6 separate regions of the Homo sapiens genome follow, and regions 1, 2, 3, 4 and 5 are each linked to region 6. Evidence: promoter capture Hi-C in 16 types of primary human blood cells and fetal thymus (Javierre and others, 2016). All regions are on one chromosome and are shown on one strand. Each heading gives the region's core, a stretch centred on a gene start or on the middle of the fragment in contact. The rest is flanking DNA. Distances are from core to core; before and after follow the strand shown.

Region 1 (3,069 bases), core at 486-2,985, 510 kb after region 6:
TCACTTGACCATAGATTGTGTGGCTCAGTTCTGGGTTTTGTACAACGTACCTGAGAGCCTTGATTCTCCGGGGATTTCAGCACTGACCTGCTCACTGCTGGAACTCTGTTAGCTCAGTACCTTTTGAGTGTAGTGACTTGTTGCCATGGGATGGTTTTCCTAAAATTGTAGACAGTTATGTTTCATGTTGAAACGTGAGCTAGGATTTTCATAAGAAAGGTATTGTTGAATTTTCCATTTCTTTTCCACATTGCTCCTCAGACTCACTGACGTGGGTTTCTGATGTCAAGTTGAGGCACTCCCTTTCTAAGAGCTGGATTTTTAATTACATGGGTATTTATGGGCTCCCTGTGTGGAAATAAGCCTTGTCTATCACACCTACCCTACGACATTTTTAGAAATTTATTTCTGCACTGTTACTGTGAGACACTCCGTGATGGGGACACATTCCATCTGTTTTATTGTTTTATAAAATTATTTTATTAACGCACCTTTCTCTCTACGAGAAAAGCTATTATCTGAATTTTCACAATTCCTCCTGCTCCCTTATCCCCACATTTTTCTCCAGTGTCATTTCCTGCAGTTTAATAAAGGCATATGTTCTGCTGTTTTGTATTCGGCCGCTTGGAGTAGTATGAGCCCATTAAACTGGCGGCCACATACCAGTGATGCATCTGGCCCAGGTAACATGAACATTTCATGCTGAATGTTTGACAAACAGGACTCAGCTTCTGCTTCTATGAACTATTAACAGGAGTCATGCCATTTATTATTAAAGAAGAAGGAGGAAGACAGGGCTCTGAGTCTAATGGGGATGGGAAATGCAGGCCCTGGCAGGAAAACGTATCTCAGCTGCACTTTCCTGTTCTGCAGAGGTGGGGAGGGAGCACCAATGAGAAGCAGCCTGGGTTTTTGTACAGGAGGTGCCCTGGGCTGTGTCTTTGTGGTCTGTGTGCACAGTAATATGTGGCTGTGTCCACAGGGTCCATGTTGGTCATTGTAAGGACCACCTGGTTTTTGGAGGTGTCCTTGGTGATGGTGAGCCTGCTCTTCAGAGATGGGCTGTAGCGCTTATCATCATCCCAATAAATGAGTGCAAGCCACTCCAGGGCCTTTCCTGGGGGCTGACGGATCCAGCCCACACCCACTCCACTAGTGCTGAGTGAGAACCCAGAGAAGGTGCAGGTCAGCGTGAGGGTCTGTGTGGGTTTCACCAGCGTAGGACCAGACTCCTTCAAGGTGATCTGGGACAAGACCCCTGTGGAGAAAGCATAAGAAGATGAAGCCCACAAACAAGAAAACTGATGTTTCACCCGTGAAGGAGTCCCTGACCACAGCACTCACATGAAGGGATGGTCAGCAGCAGGAGCGTGGAGCAAAGTGTGTCCATGGTGGGGCACAGGAGTCACTGAGCTGGGACCTGTGCTCGGCTTTTTCAACCCAGAGGAGGGTGGAGCTGGTGGAGATTTGCATTCCCCTCATCTGTGCCCTACTCTATGGGATGGAGTCAGGTTTCAGGACTCAGGAGGGTGTTGCATCTGTGGTGAGGAGCAGTGATAGTAACATGATCAGTGTAATTCAGATGGCATTAATCTAAGGCTGGGCAAGTAGATTCTGAGTAGAAGTCTTTGCAGAAGTCATGATTATGAGGTCATGTTGGTCTTTTTGCAAGAACTATTTTATGATAGTTCTTGTTGTCAGGGATATGTGTGTAAGAATTCTCCCTACACTTCCTGAATCCATTTGTCAGGGTTTTAACATATGTGACTCCATTTTGATTCTTACAAATTTCACAATCTCATCCTAAAAGCACTGGTGGAGAAGGACAGTTTATGTAGCAGCCAATTAACTCTACATCCACCTCCCATTTTAACCAGACAAACATATTTCTTTCACTACAAATGGCCACTTGCATTTCCAGAGAAGCCTATACACAATACAGTGGATGGTCCTGAGCAAGGAGAGTGAAGAAAGTCCCTTCAGCCTCTTCCACATGGCTGCAGTAGCCACAGCCTGAGCCCCAGCTGAGCTACAGGGAAAGGGCTTCAGCCCTTGAATTGAGGTCACGGAGACCACATTTACCTTTTCCAGGGAGCAGGAAAATCCAAAGGAAAAGTGAGAACGACAACTAAAAATAAAATAAATTAGAATCAAAAGAAGCACCAGATCAGTGTTATTAATTTGCATAATTTAGTGTCAGGAGAAGGGTCAGACAAAAAACTTGTGAGGGTCCCCATATTCTATATGACACTGACCATGGTCTACCATCTTTAGGCTGTTATCACCATCCTTAATGACTACTCTAAGGGAGACCCACTAAGGTCTCTGTTCTGAGTGTGATTGGAGAAGACTCAACAGGTCCCAGTGAGCTTCTACATGTCTCCAATTTTGGTGACTATGGTTGAGGGCTTTTCATCTCTGTGTCAATTTGTGTTTTGTCCATGTGAGAGTATGTCCTCAAAACACAATATTTTAAAAAAATATTTGGAGATGTCATTGGTAGGCACAGAATTCTAAAATTACAGAAGTTCCTTGGAGAAACTGTCAGACGGAGTTTTTTTCTTCTTTTTTCAATGCTTGCAGGAAAGCAGTCCTAACCTTTGCACTCCCCTCTGTGGTTGACTGATCAGTGGGTCCTGAGCACCCCCTGCAGCTCATTAGCCCAGGTGTTCCTGGAGGTTTGTGTCTCACACCGGCCTTTCCTCATGTGCTTCTCTTGCACAGTAATGTAGTGACGTGTCCTTGGTTTGCAGATTGCCCATTTGCAGAAACAGCATCTTCTTGACATTGTCTCTTGAGATGATAAATCAAAGACAAATAAATACTCTGTCGGACAAACAAATCCTGAGAAAATCTATTCCCAGCATATTAATCTTGCCATAGACGTTTTAGCAGAGTTTCTAGATGAGCAGCCATATGATATACATCCAATACCTGAATGTATCCAAAAGATAAAGATTGTCAACAATGAAAAAAATGAGGTTTAAATTTAGTTTTTGCATTTGTGTTTTCTTTATTACATAAATGTGTAAAGCAATTATAAAAATGTCAATATTACATTTTTATAGC
Region 2 (3,318 bases), core at 200-2,699, 610 kb before region 6:
CTGTGTATGATATTTTGGTTCAGTTGGGATTATTCCAGGAATCCAAGGTTAATTTAATTTTAGAAAATGTCTAAGTCATTCCATTCACATATTAAAGGAGAAAAACCATATTGTCATCTCAATGGTTGCCCCAAAAGCACATGGTGCTTCTAAAGAAGGGAGAGACTTGCTCATCAGACCGCGCACCTCAGAACAAAGCTGTGATAATGAATATAGAACAACACAGCACGGAGAGAAACGGATCAACGGAATGGGAAAGAGAACCGGGACAAAGACCCGCACATGTGGCGACTTGAGTTCGTCAGAGCTGGCCAGACATATCTGTTGGAGGAAGACGGAATAGTCTTAAATACCCACGAGGAAAAGAAGTGAAATGGAACTCTGCCTCCAGCCTTCCAAAGCAATCAGTTCCAGGTGTAGACAACACCTCAATGTGAAAAAACAGGGGGGCCTTTAGAGCAGAGTATTTGGCTTTACACACTTAGATAACAGCAAAAGAAAAAAAAACTTGCAAAGAAATCTTAAATTTCTCTTACTAGTATTACTGGCTGTAGAGATATTGGAATTGTTATTTTGAAAACATGTTAAATATAGGGTAAGCTAAAGCTAGTAATTACATTAAAGTTGTTAGGAGCCAAAATTTTCCATATAAGAGAAATGACATACAAGTACAAAACCAAAGAAATTAAGAAAAACTCTTTTTTTTTTTTTTTTTTTTTTGAGACATGGTCTCTGCTCTGTCACCAAGGCTGGAGTGCAGTGGTGCCATCTCGACTCACTGCAGCCTAGACCTCATGGGCTCAAGCAATCCTCCTACCTCAAACTCCCACATAGGTGGGACTACAGGTGTGCACCACCACACCCAACTAATTTTTTGTATTTTTTGTAGAAATGAGGTTTTGCTATGTTTCCCAGGCTGCTCTCAAACTCTTGAGCTCAAGCGATCTACCCACCTTGGCCTCCCAAAGTGCTGGGATTACAGGCGTAAGCCATTGTTCCCAGCCTAAGGAAAATTTTTAATGTTAAATTTGAATTGGAACTATCAATAGGAACTCATGATTTAACCTGGGTTTCTAAATGCCATTTCCCCACTTTAAAGACCCATGGACTCCTCAGTAAGTAGCTGAGTCCAGGTCTGGTGCAGGAAATGTGTAATAAGATAAGGCTGGAAGATCTTGTTGTGGCAGAAAGCAGCTGAATTAAGATGCATAGATTATTGGAAATATGAAAAAAGAATATAGTGGCCAGAATGATGGATTTTGTTAGTGGGGTAATGAAGCTGTGATTATGCAGGAAGCTTTCCTTCTTTATTCAGAAATGCATACTCAAGTATTTAGAGGTAAAATATCATTTATCTCTGCCCATTACTTTTAAATTTTCCAGCAAAAATGATGAAAGAGCTCCCACTGACCAAAGAATGATGACTGAACTGGATCAAAACACATTAAATATATAATAATCCGTGAGTCCATAATGATACATCAAAAAGTCAAAGAAAGAAAACTAAAGCAAAAAGCAAACAAAAACTCATCTGCCACCATCAGAGACAGCCCATTGCACAAACCCCTTACCCTGAAAATTGGTAATTAGAGAGAAAGATTCAAGCTTTTCTCCTGCCTCGCCAGCAAGAACTACACATATGTTGCAAGTATTGCCGACTCAATTCCAGGCCGCTGCAATGTCACATAAATGTTTCAGCTTTCCAGTGCATACAAAAGTTATCTTTATACTTTACGTAGTCTAGTAAGTGTACAATACCATTAAGTTGAAAAAAAACTGTACGTACCTTAATTTTAAAATATCTTATTGCTAAAAAATGCTAATAATCATCTGAGCCTTGGGGGAGTTGTAATCTTTTTGCCGGTGAGGGTCTCGCCTCAGTGTTGATGGCTGCTGACTGATAGGGTGGTACTTGCTGAAGGCTGGAGTGGCTGTGGCAGTTTCTTAAATAAGACAACAATGAAGTTTGCCGCATCAGTGGACGCTTCCTTTCATGAAAGCGGCACTCCCCACGATTCAAGTACAGATGGTCCCATCTTAGGACAATTCGAGTTAATGATCTTTCAACTTTATCGTGGTGCAAAAGTGACACACCTTCAGTAGAAACCATGCTTTGAGCACCCACACAACCATTCTGTTTTTCACTTTCAGTGTAGTATTCAATAAGTTACACAAGGTATTGACACTTTATTATAAAGTGGGCTTTGTGTTAGGTGATTTTGCCCAACTCTAGGGTGAAATCATATGCCTGTTAGCCATGTTTTTTTGGTTTTTGTGTTTTTTTTGAGACAGAGTCTCACTCTGTTGCCCAGGCTGGAGTGCAGTGGTGCCATCTCAGCTCACTGCAACCTCCGCCTCCCGGGTTCAAGAGATTCTCCTGCCTCAGCCTCCTGAGTAGCTGGGACTAGAAGCACCTGCCACCATGCCCGGCTAATTTTTGTATTTTTAGTAGAGACAGGGGTACACCATATTGGTCAGGCTGGTCTCAAACTCCTGACCTCAGGTGATCCATCCGCCTTGGCCTCCCAAAGTGCTGGGATTACAGGCGTGAGCTACCAAGCCCGGCCTTTGTATATCTTCTTCTCAGAAATATCTGTAAGTTGGCCAGGTGCCGTGGCTCACTCCTGTAATCCCAGCACTTTGGGAGGCCAAGGAGGGCAGATCACAATGTCAGGAGTTCAAGACCAGCCTGACAAACGTGGTGAAACCCCATGTCTACTAAAAATACAAAACTTAGCCAGGCATGGTGGCGCTTGCCTGTGGTCCCAGCTACTCCGTAGGCTGAGGCATGATAATCCCTTGAATCTGGGAGGCAGAGGTTGCAGTGAGCCAAGATTGCATCACCAAACTCCACCCTGGGCAACAGAACAAGACTCCATCTCAACAACAACAACAACAAAAAGAAATGTCTGCAAGTGTTCTGATCACGTTTAAGGTCAGGCTATGCTATGATGTTCAGTAAGTTAGGGGTATTAAATGCATAATGCATTTTCTTTTGAGACAGAGTCTTGTTCTATTGCCCAGGCTGGAGTTCAGTGATGCAATCTTGGCTCACTGCAACCTCTGCCTCCCGGATTCAAGGGATTCTCGTGCCTCAGTCTACGGAGTAGCTGAGACCACAGGCACACGCCAACATGCCCAGCTAAGTTTTGTATTTTTTGTAGACACAGGGTTTTGCCATATTGCCCAGGCTGGTCTTGAACTCCTGGGCTCCAGTGATCTGCCCACCTCAGCCTCCCAAACTGTTGGGATTACAGGCGTGAGCCACCTCACCCAGCCTGCATTTTTGACATGATATATTCTTAATTGATACATAAT
Region 3 (2,962 bases), core at 376-2,875, 540 kb after region 6:
AAAGCCTCTGACACACTCAAAAAATGTAGCAAAAGTATTTATAATATGAGCATGATTATATTGCCAAATATAAAATATCATAATGACAACAATCAATTTTACCTGTCGTCTTGACTAGACCACAGTCTCATCTACTCAATCACACACTAGCTTAGGTGTTGCTCCCATGGCATGATACAGGTGTTAGGAGAGCTTGCCATTATGTTTTCCTAAGTCATGAAGAGTGTTCTAGATAAACTAGGTGGGGCTGATTCAATCACAGCATAACAGAAGATGATGGGACTCCACGGTGGATGGCAGATGCAGGTCTTCCCAGGAATTCCAGCCTGTCTTTCCTGAGGTCCAGAAGTATTGACCTTAGGCTGCCTAGCCAGACCCTACAATTACTGTTACCCAGAGCTCACCCACAATGGACTATCCATCATCAACTCTCCTCAAAGTTATAGGTGAGGGTCCAAACTCTGTGACAGTGTGAGAAGCACAAGTTCAGCTCTACATCAATATCCAATTGGAGAAAACTAGTATTATTCCCTTAATGACTAATGTCCACTTCATTTCCCAAATGCCTCCATGCACAGAAGACAACAGGAGTGTCCAGACAATGGTGAGTGAGAAAGTCTCCTCAGCCTACCCAGGTCCTGCAGACCTGAGCCCTGGGATTTTCCCTGAAAACAGAAAACACATCGTTTGTTCTCAGGGAAGAGAAGAAGAAAGCGAACTGTGAGAATCAAACCTACAGAGAAGCAAAATGGATTAGCAGAAAAAGGGTCAACTGAATCAGTCTGAGTTTACAAGACGAGGGGGGATAGCTGTGAAAACCATCAGGCTTTAAGGACCCCGACCCTGGGTGAGCCTGTCTCTTGGCTCCCATCAGAGCTCAAAGCCCGTTCTAATCAGAAATTCCCATGGAGGTCTCTGCCCTGAGTCTAATTGGAAAACACTCTCCAGGTTTCCCTGGGATTCCTCAGGACTCTCATCCTGTTGACCACGAAAGGATTATTTCTGCCCCCAAAGTGACACCCTGGCTTCTGTGGAGCTGAGGATATGTACTCCTGTTGCAAAAAAACAAAGAAACAAAAAGGACAAAAAAAGTATTGCATTTAGAGACATGAAATGTCAGTACAGAATTGTAAATCTGGAGAAGTTCCTGGGGAAATTTGACAACGAGGCAGCCCCAGACCGCGACAGGAAGCCAGCCCTCAGCAGCACCTGCACCTGCCCTGGAGACAGCCCCGTGCTCAATGCCCTGTCGCCCCCTGGTGGTCCCAAGGGACCCCTGCAGGGAGGTTTGTGTCTGGGCTCACACTGACTTCCCCTCACTGTGTCTCTCGCACAGTAATACACGGCCGTGTCCTCGGCTCTCAGGCTGTTCATTTGCAGATACAGTGAGTTCTTGGCGTTGTCTCTGGAGATGGTGAATCGGCCCTTCACAGAGTCCACATAGTATTTCTCACTTCCATCTTGCTTTATGTTGGCCACCCACTCCAGCCCCTTCCCTGGAGCCTGGCGGACCCAGCTCATCCAATAGCTACTAAAGGTGAATCCAGAGGCTGCACAGGAGAGTCTCAGGGACCCCCCAGGCTGGACCAAGCCTCCCCCAGACTCCACCAGCTGCACCTCACACTGGACACCTGCAAACAAAGAGACACCAAGGTCAGAAACTGCCACACAAATCCACTGTTTCTCACACTCATATCCACACACACTCAATCTTCCTAGTTTTCCATGAATCACCTTCTAAAATAGCAACAAGGAAAACCCAGCTCAGCCCCAACTCCATGGTGAGTCCTCTGTGCTCAGTGCTGATCACCAAGTGGAAAGGCCTTGGAGTCCAGGGCTAAGGCTCCTCTCTGAGACCTGCAGGGTCAGGGTTGGGTTGGTTTTCATCAGTAGAGGGAGGGCCCTATTTGCATGTCTCCTACTATATAAGAAGCTCTAGTGGGATGCTGGAGGAATAGGCTGTACCCATATAAGAAGACGGTGCTCTGCAGAAGTTTGCTGACAATGATGGTATTTGGAAAATATGCTGTCTTATGAAATTGTGCTGTGATAAACACTTTGCCCTGATCACCCTATTACATTTTTTAAAAAATGTGTAAATTATGCTCTGTAGGAGTCAGTATTTTCTCCTTTTACAGAAGTGGAAGTAAACCCACACATGGGGGGGCTCTGTATGCACCCAGGAGCTCATGTCTGGGATGAGTGAACGCTGCCATCTGGCCCTGTGCTTCTCGTCACTGGCTCTGACATCCCCCTAAACCAACTCCAGGACAAAGCTGTACATGCCCGGTGTGGTTTTCAGAAGCCACTTTCTGTAATAAGAGCATGTGTGGTTTTGCTGCTGTTCTGTGTGTCAGGCATTTATTTATTATAAATCATGGGTAGTATTCCAGTGAACACATTTACCATAATTTGTTTTTCTATTAAGCAGCTTAACAATATTTGAATTCTCTGTGACTCTGGGTCTTACCAAAAAACCTGCAACTCAGCTTCAAAATGTACATAGATGAGGAGTATATTTTACTTACTGTTTTACAGCATCAACATAACAGATAAACACAGGAGATGGAATTTTGCCAATTTTAAAATATACTTTAAATACTGGAGGTTTTAAGATAATCATCAAATCCGAAATTTAGGGAGAGACAAGTTCTTGCAGAGAGTAAAAAGGCATGGGTACGAGTTGAACTGAGGCAGAGTCTGGCATATAAAAATGTAGGCTATTATAAGAGAAAAAAATACATAGATACTGAATTGGTGAAGTCAAGTGTGGTAAATGTGTTGTAGCGTGAATTTCTCAGGGACCACATACTGAAGAGCTTTCCTATACCTTGAAACCTTTTTCCCAAAAATGGGGACAGTCACAAAAATCTTTTGTCCCAATGTGTCTGTCTGGGAGAGAAAAAGAGCCCACACTCTGAAATGCATTCAGACCCACCTCCTTAATCCCCATTGCAGAACT
Region 4 (3,300 bases), core at 598-3,097, 590 kb before region 6:
CCATGAATCTGGCAGGGGCATCTGGGAAGAGATTTGACCACTGAAAGACTGTAGGGAAACCCTTGAACCTCAATCCGCTACGCCACGTGGATTTGCTTCCTGTGGGCTGCCCAAGAGCGCCTCTGTGGTGAAGGAAGCTTCTGAGGATGGGCCACTAAAGATGGCCAAGGTCACCTTTCTGTGCTGTCCCCACTCTGCACTCCATCTCCCATCCCACACTGCCTCCAGCTGGAGGGAGGGAGGGAGGGTTGTACGTCTGTGTCCCTGCCACACTGTGAACTCAGCCCTATCTTCCTTGTCTTCCTCACAGCCTCTGGCTCAGAGGAGGACCTGGACAAATGGATGATAGGTAGGCAACCACCCAAATGTTCCTCATTGACTGTTCTCTAGAGCTGCTTAGTAGAGACCAGGAGTGTGTGGGAGGAAAGCCCTGGTAAACTTCGACCCTGAGACAGAAGACCTCAGCAGCCTTCAGCATGGGATGCAGCACTTTCTTTATTGCCCATCCAGGGAACAGCCAAGCCAGCTCCATCTGCATTCTGGCTGCAGCGTGTACATTAGGGGACTCAGGGGCCACAGTGTGGGACCGTGCACACTGGCAAGGCACTGGCGGATGCTGGCAGGCCAGTGGACATGGATAGATGAGAATGACAACTCACAGATGTCCTAGCTTCTGCTGGCCCAGCTGCCAGCCACTGGCCATCACCCTTTTGCCCAGCATGTGTGCATTGTCACCCAAAACATCTTGAAACTTGCCATTAGTGAGGCATTCAACAAAGAAGTAAGCTAAGTGAGTAGGAAACAGTGTTTCCTGGAATATACCGCACTCTGCCTGAAATAGGAAAACTATGTTTGCCGGGAAGCAGCAGCAGCAGGAAAGAAGTTATACCAAAAACGACTTGTACACCACAGACATTATAACCCTTTCCTCAAAGAAACAGTCATGTTCTGTTGGGTATTATGGACAGGTCTCTGGAAATTTATCTAATAAAGACCAACAAACTTCCCCAGCAGTGCCTCTGAGTACCGTGTGAATTCTGGTGTCTTGTGGAAGTCAGGGTGCCTTCTTTGCATCCAAAGCTTTGAGGGAGCTGGGAAGCTTTGGTTCCATTTTAGGAGGGCTGTGTGATGGTGACAAAGGTGTTCTGGTCATTTCTGCTCTGTTCTCCGTTCTGTGAAGTGAGGTGGATGTAATGTGCTGTGGGATGGGGTGCTCCATATGTGTGTGTAGCCTTTACTTTCCAACTTAGTTTTTTGCATCTCTCTTGTACTGATGAGCCATACCTCTCAGCCTTCATTTGGTCCCAGGCCTGACCCTTTGCTTTCATCGTCAGCTTTTCTGTCCTGCTCGGGCAGGATTAACTCTGTTCTTGCCGCGGATGTCACCATCACTCTGGAGTCCAGCCCAGTGCCCACAGGCCCGATCAGTTCACCCTCTTCCTTCTCTTCAGGGGAGAAACTTTCTCGGGCATCAAAAAACGTGATTGTTTCTTCTTGAAGTTTTTGTTCTTCCAGCTCTGCCCCATCTTCGGTGCTTTTGCTTTTCTTGGTAGGAGATGAGGAGAACCCTAATTTGGGAAATCGGAACCAGCCTGCCTTCTCCTGTTTTTTAGGCAGTTCTGCCTCTGGTCGTGCCTCAGGCTGTGTTTGAATGGGAGCAGATCTCTGGACGTCATTTTTGGAATCAACACCTGTCTCATCAACAGAAGAGGAAAACCCAATGTTTGGAAGCCAAAACCAGAGCAGACCAGATTTTTTACTTTCTGGTTTGTCTTTTGGAGCCCTGCCTTCATCTGCCAGTGGTGTGGTTGCCTCTTGGCTATCATCAGGGGGAAACTCAAGAATTTCTGCTGGCTCCTCATCTGAACAGCTGTCTGCAAGCTGGTGGCCAGAAGGAACTTCAAATGTGAGTGTTTGCTGTCCCAGTACATTGACGCTGGAAGAGATCATCTCAAATGGTTCTCCAGTGTCAGGCTGGAGATCTCCAGAAATGGAGTCTACTCCTGGGGTGGCTTGTATGGGAGCCTCTTCTGTGCCCTCCTGAGTCCTAGAGTGTTGAGTCATTGTTGTGTACACTCTAGCCTGCGTGTGGGGCTCTGGGATTTTCACTTTTAATAAGGAAAATCCGTACGAAGGTGTTTGAATCTCTGACGTGGGGATCTCTGATTCCCGCACAATCTGAGTGGAAAAAGTCCTGGGTACTGAGAGATCTACAAACTCTGGTGTCACTATGCTGTGTATAGTGACCTCTTGACTTTCAACCTGAGCACCCTGAATATGCACTCTGACCTTTGAAATTGGGGGAGCTTCCAAAGGCAGGTTAAGGTCCACAGGCTGCTCCCCAGGGACCCCAGCACCTGCCTTCAGGATGCTGGCTCCCCAGAGCCCCGGACTTTCCTTACAAAGGGCTGTATCAATATTGGCCTCTGGACACTGCACTTCCCTCACAGTGGGGATGAACACATCATCCTCTGAGCTGGGGGCAGGGAAGGAGAACCTTGGTACCATTAATTTGGGGAATTTGACAGTTAGGACAGAATCTTCCCACAGTTGATCCACATTAACCACAGAAATCTGGGATGGCATATCAGTACTTGAAGCTTTCAATTTAAGTGGACCTTCAGGCTGGGAAGACCATTTCTCTGTTTTATCCTCCATGCTGGCAAGGTCATGTCCTGGCTTGGAAAGAGGAGTCTCATCTATTTCTCCTGGAAGAACCTGGGTTTCTGGAAGCCTCATGCCAGGCATCTGAAAAGGGAGAGGTCCTTTGGATGGATGGATCCTGACCTCAGAAGTGGAAAGCTCATCCCCAGTCATCCCAGCAGTGGAGAGGTGCAGCTTCAAGCCTGTGCTGTCAAGATCACACCTTAGAATATCTGTGGATGATTTGCTCTCAGAAGCTGTCACTTCTGCATCTGCCTCTGGGAGCTGTAGGGACATAGCTGCCTCCACGTTTGACCCAGAAACAAGGAACTCTTTGACTTTAGCTGCTGCTTCACCCCCTGTTGCTGCCGGTGCCTGTGTCTGAGCCACTTCCAGCTTTCCAGCCCCGCCTCTGTCCCTGAAAGAGCGCCTAAGGCTGGGCATGCGGAACTTGGGCATTTTAAACCAGCTTTCCTGCGAGTACTTGGTCATGGCTTCCTCCTCTGGGCTTTCCACTGTGAGGACTTCAGCATCTGGTTTTCTACAGGATGGCTGGAGGGGATCTTCAGGTGTGGGGGCTATCCCCTCCCCACAAGGCTGGCTCACTGGGACATCCCCGAGCCCACATCCTCTGCTGTCACCTTCGGTAGACAGATC
Region 5 (3,226 bases), core at 727-3,226, 740 kb after region 6:
TCTTTCTAAGAGGCTCCAATCACTGTATTACCAGTAATAGACAAGGCAAAAGAAGAAAACCAAACTTCTGACAAATGTTCTTAGTATATGTAAACAAGCTACTCCCAATTCATAGTCAACTAAGTTCTATAAGACTTTAAAAGGATTGTACACCATGACAAGCTCCAAATTATTTTTGAGATGCGCTGATGAATCAATATCTTCAAATCAATAAATCTGATGTGGTAAATTAAGAGAATAAAGGAAAAGCATCAGTTAACTTCTCACCAGACATAGAAAATAACATTTAAAAAATTCAAGATCTCATAATAAAACCTCTAAAAGTTAGGAATACAAGAATATAACCTGTATATAATAAAAGTCATTATTTAAAGCCATACTTTTATATGGAAGAGTGAAAGGTTAAAATATTTTGCTATAGCATCTGTAAAAAGGCAAAAATAAACTTACATCTTACTTCCAGATTTCAAAAGTAATAACAAAAGTAGAATAATAAAAACAGGATGGAGTTGGCATAAATATGTAGAAAGAGCTCAGAAATAAACTGATGTATCAATGGCAAACTGATTTTCAGCATAAGAACCCACAATATAAAACAGATAAACCAAGTCTCTCCCTATGAATGTGTTAGAAAAACTGGATGTACACATGCAAAGAGTTAAGAATTTTGGGTTAGAATAAACACAAAAATCACTCTGAATGGGCCAGATATTTAAACATATGGCCTGCAATTGTAAAATTTCCCCGACCCAGAAAATAATATATTAACAATGATTTCCTATATTTCACATTAAAGGCACAGACAACAAAAGCAGAATTAAACAGGTGGAACTACATCACAACAAAAAGATTCTACAAAGTGTGGAAATAATTCCAACCTACAGAATGGGAAAATATAATTGCAAGCCATGCATCTGAAAAAGGGATGACATCCAAAAATACATGCAACATCTACCACTCATTAGCAAAATCATATTTGCCTGATTGGATAGTGATCACTTTTTCACCTTAAAAAATTATGAACATAGATCTCATGTTAAAGATTCTTCCCTCTGGGTAATGGTAAATTTGATGGTACACTTGGTTAGGATAGACTTTGTAGTTATTCACTGCAACACTAATATATGTGGTGCTGTGAATTTACTTAAGACAAGCAAAACAGGTGGGCCTGATTCCATCAGAGCAGAACTGGAGAAAATGAAATTCCATGGTGTTTCAGCAGCTTTGCCTCTCTCTGGGACCTCCAGCCTGCACTTATTGATGGATGATCTTCTGGACACTGGGTATTCCCAGACATCTCCAAAAACTGTCATCCTCCACATCTCACAGAAAAGTGGCATGTCTTTTGTCCTTGCGATAGTTTGCTGAGAATGATAGAAGGATGGTTTCCAGTTTCTTCCGTGTCCCTACAAAGGACATGAACTCATCATTTTTTTCCTCACTCATAGGTGGGAATTGAACAATGAGAACACATGGACACAGGAAGAGGAACATCACACTCCAGGGACTGTTGTGGGGTGGGGGTAGTGGGGAGGGAGAGCATTAGGAGGTATACCTAATGCTAAATGACGAGTTAATGGGTGGAGCACAACAACATGGCACATGTATACATATGTAACAAACCTGCATTGTTCACAGGTACCCTAAAACTTAAAGTACAAGAATAATAAAATTTTTAAAAAAAGTCATAAAAAAAGAAAGTGGCATGTCCATCTGTAGCTTGTCAACCCTGAATAACAGAGAGAGAGAGACTCTAAAATATAATAATATGTATTCTAGGAAGTGTATTGCAATTGAAATGTATGGGTGCATTCAGGTTGGTATAGGAAGATAAAGAATAAAGGAAAAATGAGGAGGGTCACATCAGCTGTTTAAGACAATTGTCCTGGGCTAGAAGGATCAATAACAGGGGCACATCGGTGTAAAGTTGAACAGGGAGTTGCTGGGCAGATACACTGGGAGAAGTAATTCTTTTAATGTTGTGGTGGCTTCTGTGCAAGGTTATGGTTGTGCAGAGTCTATTTATGGTAGTTCTTATTATCAGGAATATGTGTGTTAGAACCCTCCTTCATGGCCTTCCCCAGCTTCATTCATTAGGGCTTTAACACAAGTGGCTCCATCTTGATTCTGATAAATTTCACCAGCTCTTTCTAACACTACTTCTGAAGCAGACGACTCTGACACTGTGCACGGAACAGGGTTAACTCCACATCCACATCCCATTTTGATCAAATGAGTTTGTCCCCTTCAGTATTAATGGTCAACTGCATTCCCAGATGAGCCTACACACAACACAGTGGAGGGTCCTGAGAAAATGGGGAGAGAAGGAAGTCCCATCAGCCTCTCCCACGTGGCTGCAGGAGCCACAGCCTGAGCCCCACCTGAGCTCCAAGAAAATGCCTTGAGCCCTGGAATGTGGACCAAGGGGACCATCTGTTTCTTTTTCAGGAAACAGGAAAAGCAAATAAAAAAGGGAGAAGAAACTCTCCAAAGAAAGAACATGGATTGGGAGCAAAAGGAGCACCAGGTCAGTGCTGATGCTGATTGGCTTTAGTGTCAGGAGAAGGGTCAGACGTGGAACCTGTGAGGTTCTACATGACTCTGGCCCTGGCCCATCCTCTCTGTTAGATGTGATCAAAACTCATAAAGGCTGTCCCTGAGGTTTCTGTCCCAGGACTGATTGCGGAAGAGTCACCAGGCACCCCTGAGTTTCCTCAGGACTCTCATCCTGGTGACCATGGTTGAGAACTTTTCATCTCTGTAAGCGTCAATCTGCATTTGGTGCGTGTGAGAATAGGTGCTCATATTAAAATGATCTTTTAAAAAATACGTAGAGATGACATTAGTAAGCACAGAATTCTGAGGTTAGAGAGGTTCACTAGAGAAACTGTCAGAAGAAGATGAAGTCCCACACCCTGACAGGAAACAGCCTCCATCTGCACCTGCCTCTGGGGATGACTCTGATCAGCGGGTCCTGAGCGCCCCCTGCCGCTGATTTCCCCCCCATCGTTCCTGCAGGGAGGTTTGTGTCTGGGCTCACAATGACTTCCCCTCACTGTGTCTTTCGCACAGTAATATACGGCCGTGTCCTCGGCTCTCAGGCTGTTCATTTGCAGATACAGCGTGTTCTTGGAATTGTCTCTGGAGATGGTGAACCGGCCCTTCACGGAGTCTGCGTAGTATGTGCTACCACCACTACCACTAATAGCTGAGACCCACTCCAGCC
Region 6 (2,903 bases), core at 350-2,849:
GCACTGCCCAGTGGCCAGTGTGGGACGTGGGCAGTGGGCTGTCCTTTTGTTCAGTTCTCAGCCTTTGGGATGTGAATGAGGGTTTAGACTTGTACATCATGTATGGCTTGCACAACTTCCTGGGGTTGCTTTTTTTTTTTTTTTTTTTTTGAGACAGAGTCTCACTCTGTTGCCCAGGCTGGAGTGCAGTGGCAAGATCTCGGCTCACTGCAACCTCCATCTCCCGGACTCAAGCAATTCTCCTGCTTCAGCCTCCCGAGTAGCTGGGATTACAGGTGTGTGCCACCACGCCCGGCTAATTTTTATATTTTTAGTAGAGATGGGGGTTTCACCATGTTGGCCAGGCTGGTCTCGAACTCCCGACCTCAGGTAATCCGCCCACATCGGCCTCCCAAAGTGCTGGAATTACAGGTGTGAGCCACCACGCCCAGCCCATGGATTGCTTTCTACTGCTTCTCCCTGCCCACCATCTCTCCAGCGACAGGGGACCACATCTCCTGGGGCTGGAAAGGAAGGCTCTTCTGCCTCAGCGTTTTAGGTGCTTGTAAACCCTATGCCTTGGTCATGGCTTTGGTGGGATACCTAGGGGCTGGGGCATCAGAGAATGGAGAAGAGTAAAAAAACAACCACTACCAAAAAACCCCATCCTCCCAAACCCTAACATCCCCCCGGGCATTCTCCTGCACCCTGGGAGCATTAGGCGACCTTTTTCTTTCCTCCCCTTGTGCCAGGACTAGAGAACTTCTGGAGCTCTCTGTCCTCTTCTGGCTTTCAGGCCGTGTTGAGTCCAGGCCCGGGGATACGGGAAGAGAATCTGGAAGTTCACTACCAGTTGGGTGGTGCCTCAAATTCTGGTCTTTCCACCAAATCTGGTGTCCCTTTACCTCTCTGACCCTCAGTCTCCTCCTATGTCAGAGGGAAGTCACAGCAGTTCTGGGAAGGAGGGCAGGCAGGCAGAAGGTGCCCTCGGGTTCTTCTCTGGCTCACACGGGATGGACAGGATGTGGGGGGAGGGGCTTAGTGCCACCTCAGTGACAAAATGAAGCCCAAGTCCCCAAACCCTAGCTTGCCTCCTGGACGGGCTGGAGAAGAAGGTGGGGGCCGCTCATCATTCCTTTCCTCTGCCCTGAGAAGAAACCTGGGAAGGCTGGGTTTCTCCCCAAAGAGGACAGAGGGTGGCGCGGAGGGCCCCGGCGGCCAGGCCAGCCCCGCGCCTACATCCCTGTCAGCTCCTGGGCCGGTGGGCGCCTGTCCGGCTGAGTGGGGTCGCTCTAGGGGGCGGCAGCGGAGTTTCAGGGCGCGGGGGGCACTGGGCGGGACCCTGGGATTCTGGGCGGTGGGTGAGGAGGGTGGAGACGGGACTCCGCGCCTGGGGGTGCGCGAGGGCGCCCCGCTCCCCAGAGCCACCAGTCCTGCGCGCCGCCGCGCGGTGCTGTCGCCGTGGCAACCGGCGCTGCGGAGGGGGCGGGGCACCGGCACCCCCGCGCTCCCAGGTCCCCAGGTCCGGCGGGGCTCGCGGGCCGAGGGGCGCGGGGCGGGGCCTCTGGGTCGGGGGCGGTGCCGCGCGGGCGGGGGAGGGGCGCGGCGGGAGGAGCCGGCGCGGCCCCGGCAGTGGCGGCAGAGGCTGGGCGGGCGGGCCCGGGAGCGGCGCAGCATCTGCGGGCGGCGGGGTAGGCGCGGGCGCGGGCGGGACTGGCTGGGTGCGCGGCTGCGTCCGCGGAGGGGGCGGCGGGCCTGGGCGACCCTGCACCTCTGGGCCGTGGGGACTGTGGGGTGGGGCGGGGGCCGATGCGGCAGGGGTGAGGCCTGGGGCCGGCGGGGTGACGGGGACCCGGCCCTGCGTGGGGAAGCCTCGGGGGGACAAGCAGAGACGCAGCCTGCTGGGAGCGGCCCAAGCTCTGCACCGGCCCGCGGCGGGAGCACAGCAGCCCCCTCCCGCCCCTCCTCCCGGGGGCTCCGAGGGGTGGTTATGGGGCGAGGGTCCTTGCGGGGCCCGGGCAGTGAAGGGCCTGGAGGCCCCAGAGTCTGTGCCAGGTCTGAGCCGCGGGGCGTGGGGGGAGGAGGGGCCTCGGCCGGGGCCCAGGAGACCCAGGACAGGTGGGCCTGGGGCCAGGTCCCTACGGAGAGGTGGCCGGGCCGGGCTCTGGCTTGCCGGGGTAGGGGCTCCGCTAGGGGCTGGAGTCCGTCCCTTCGCCAGCGCAGAGCCCCTCGGCCCGCATCTGCCAAGTGACTGAGGATCGAGCGACAGCGTAGTGGGGCGGAGGGGCTGGAGGCACGGCCGGAAAGGGTGAGCGGCGCCGTGGCTCCCCCGCTATTTATTTGGCCCCGCCACGCGCGGAGAGGGAGGAAATTCTCAGGCTGCGGCTGCAGCTAGGGGAGGCCCAGGTGGGCCTGGAATGGGCCCAGAGAGGGCTTCCTGGGTCAGACGTGTAGATCCAGTGGACGTGAAAACCGGGTGAGTGTCCCGGTGGGACCCAGAGCGCGGGGAGGCTTGGAGGCAGGGGCATGGGCTGAGGACCCTCAAGGCACCCTCCTCGCGACCTGTCAGAGCTCCGAGGGGTGGGGGTGTCCTGTGTGTGGCTGTGGGGATCCTGGGCGGCGGGTGCTGGGTGGGGGCAGGGGTGGGAGTGCAGAGTTCAACGCTTTCCCGGATCGGTGGGGCCTGCGGTGTCACCAGGGCAGTCCGAGCGCCCGACTGTCACGGGGACATTAAATTTTATGCCTTTGTCTAGACACGGCAGTAAACGGAGCCCCAGGCCTGGGGCTGTGGAGGGGGTGAGGGGCTGGCTGGGAGTAAGCCTGTCAGTGACTTTGGGGTGGGTGCGGGTGTGCGGGCCTCCATTGTCACCCAGGTGTGCACAGGCCCAGGTGCGGGGACTCCGACAGCACGGCCATGAGGACCA

Evidence for each region. The method cuts DNA at HindIII sites, captures the fragments that hold promoters and counts their contacts. A CHiCAGO score of 5 or more calls a contact.
Region 1: a contact is called between a fragment that was not itself captured here and the fragment with the promoter of TMEM121 in region 6, in 3 of 17 cell types (total B cells, erythroblasts and M2 macrophages). The highest score is 5.9, in total B cells.
Region 2: a contact is called between a fragment that was not itself captured here and the fragment with the promoter of TMEM121 in region 6, in 2 of 17 cell types (monocytes and naive CD8 T cells). The highest score is 6.6, in monocytes.
Region 3: a contact is called between a fragment that was not itself captured here and the fragment with the promoter of TMEM121 in region 6, in 2 of 17 cell types (total B cells and naive B cells). The highest score is 6.0, in total B cells.
Region 4: a contact is called between a fragment that was not itself captured here and the fragment with the promoter of TMEM121 in region 6, in 1 of 17 cell types (monocytes). The highest score is 5.1, in monocytes.
Region 5: a contact is called between a fragment that was not itself captured here and the fragment with the promoter of TMEM121 in region 6, in 1 of 17 cell types (naive B cells). The highest score is 5.5, in naive B cells.

What each region holds. Positions count from the first base shown.
Region 1 is chr14:106,036,956-106,040,024 of GRCh38, forward strand. It overlaps IGH, IGHV2-5 and the pseudogene IGHVIII-5-1. Among named protein-coding and RNA genes, the nearest start is that of FAM30A, 120 kb to the left of the region's middle. The HindIII fragment of the contact is 6,337 bases long and covers 1-3,069 here.
Region 2 is chr14:104,915,348-104,918,665 of GRCh38, forward strand. No RefSeq gene overlaps it. Among named protein-coding and RNA genes, the nearest start is that of PLD4, 7.9 kb to the right of the region's middle. RefSeq lists a silencer at 104-329. The HindIII fragment of the contact is 308 bases long and covers 1,296-1,603 here.
Region 3 is chr14:106,060,825-106,063,786 of GRCh38, forward strand. It overlaps IGH and IGHV3-7. Among named protein-coding and RNA genes, the nearest start is that of FAM30A, 140 kb to the left of the region's middle. The HindIII fragment of the contact is 4,678 bases long and covers 1-2,962 here.
Region 4 is chr14:104,936,776-104,940,075 of GRCh38, forward strand. AHNAK2 (AHNAK nucleoprotein 2) reads right to left here. Exons shown (of 7, transcript NM_138420.4): 7 at 478-3,300. The coding sequence ends at 1,288. It also overlaps a transcript of PLD4 not described here. Among named protein-coding and RNA genes, the nearest start is that of PLD4, 14 kb to the left of the region's middle. RefSeq lists an enhancer at 2,720-3,220. The HindIII fragment of the contact is 1,501 bases long and covers 1,098-2,598 here.
Region 5 is chr14:106,265,546-106,268,771 of GRCh38, forward strand. It overlaps IGH and IGHV3-23. Among named protein-coding and RNA genes, the nearest start is that of LINC00226, 21 kb to the right of the region's middle. The HindIII fragment of the contact is 5,888 bases long and covers 1-3,226 here.
Region 6 is chr14:105,524,984-105,527,886 of GRCh38, forward strand. It overlaps TMEM121 (transmembrane protein 121), which reads left to right and starts at 1,600. Exons shown (of 2, transcript NM_025268.4): 1 at 1,600-1,670. The HindIII fragment of the contact is 18,865 bases long and covers 1-2,903 here.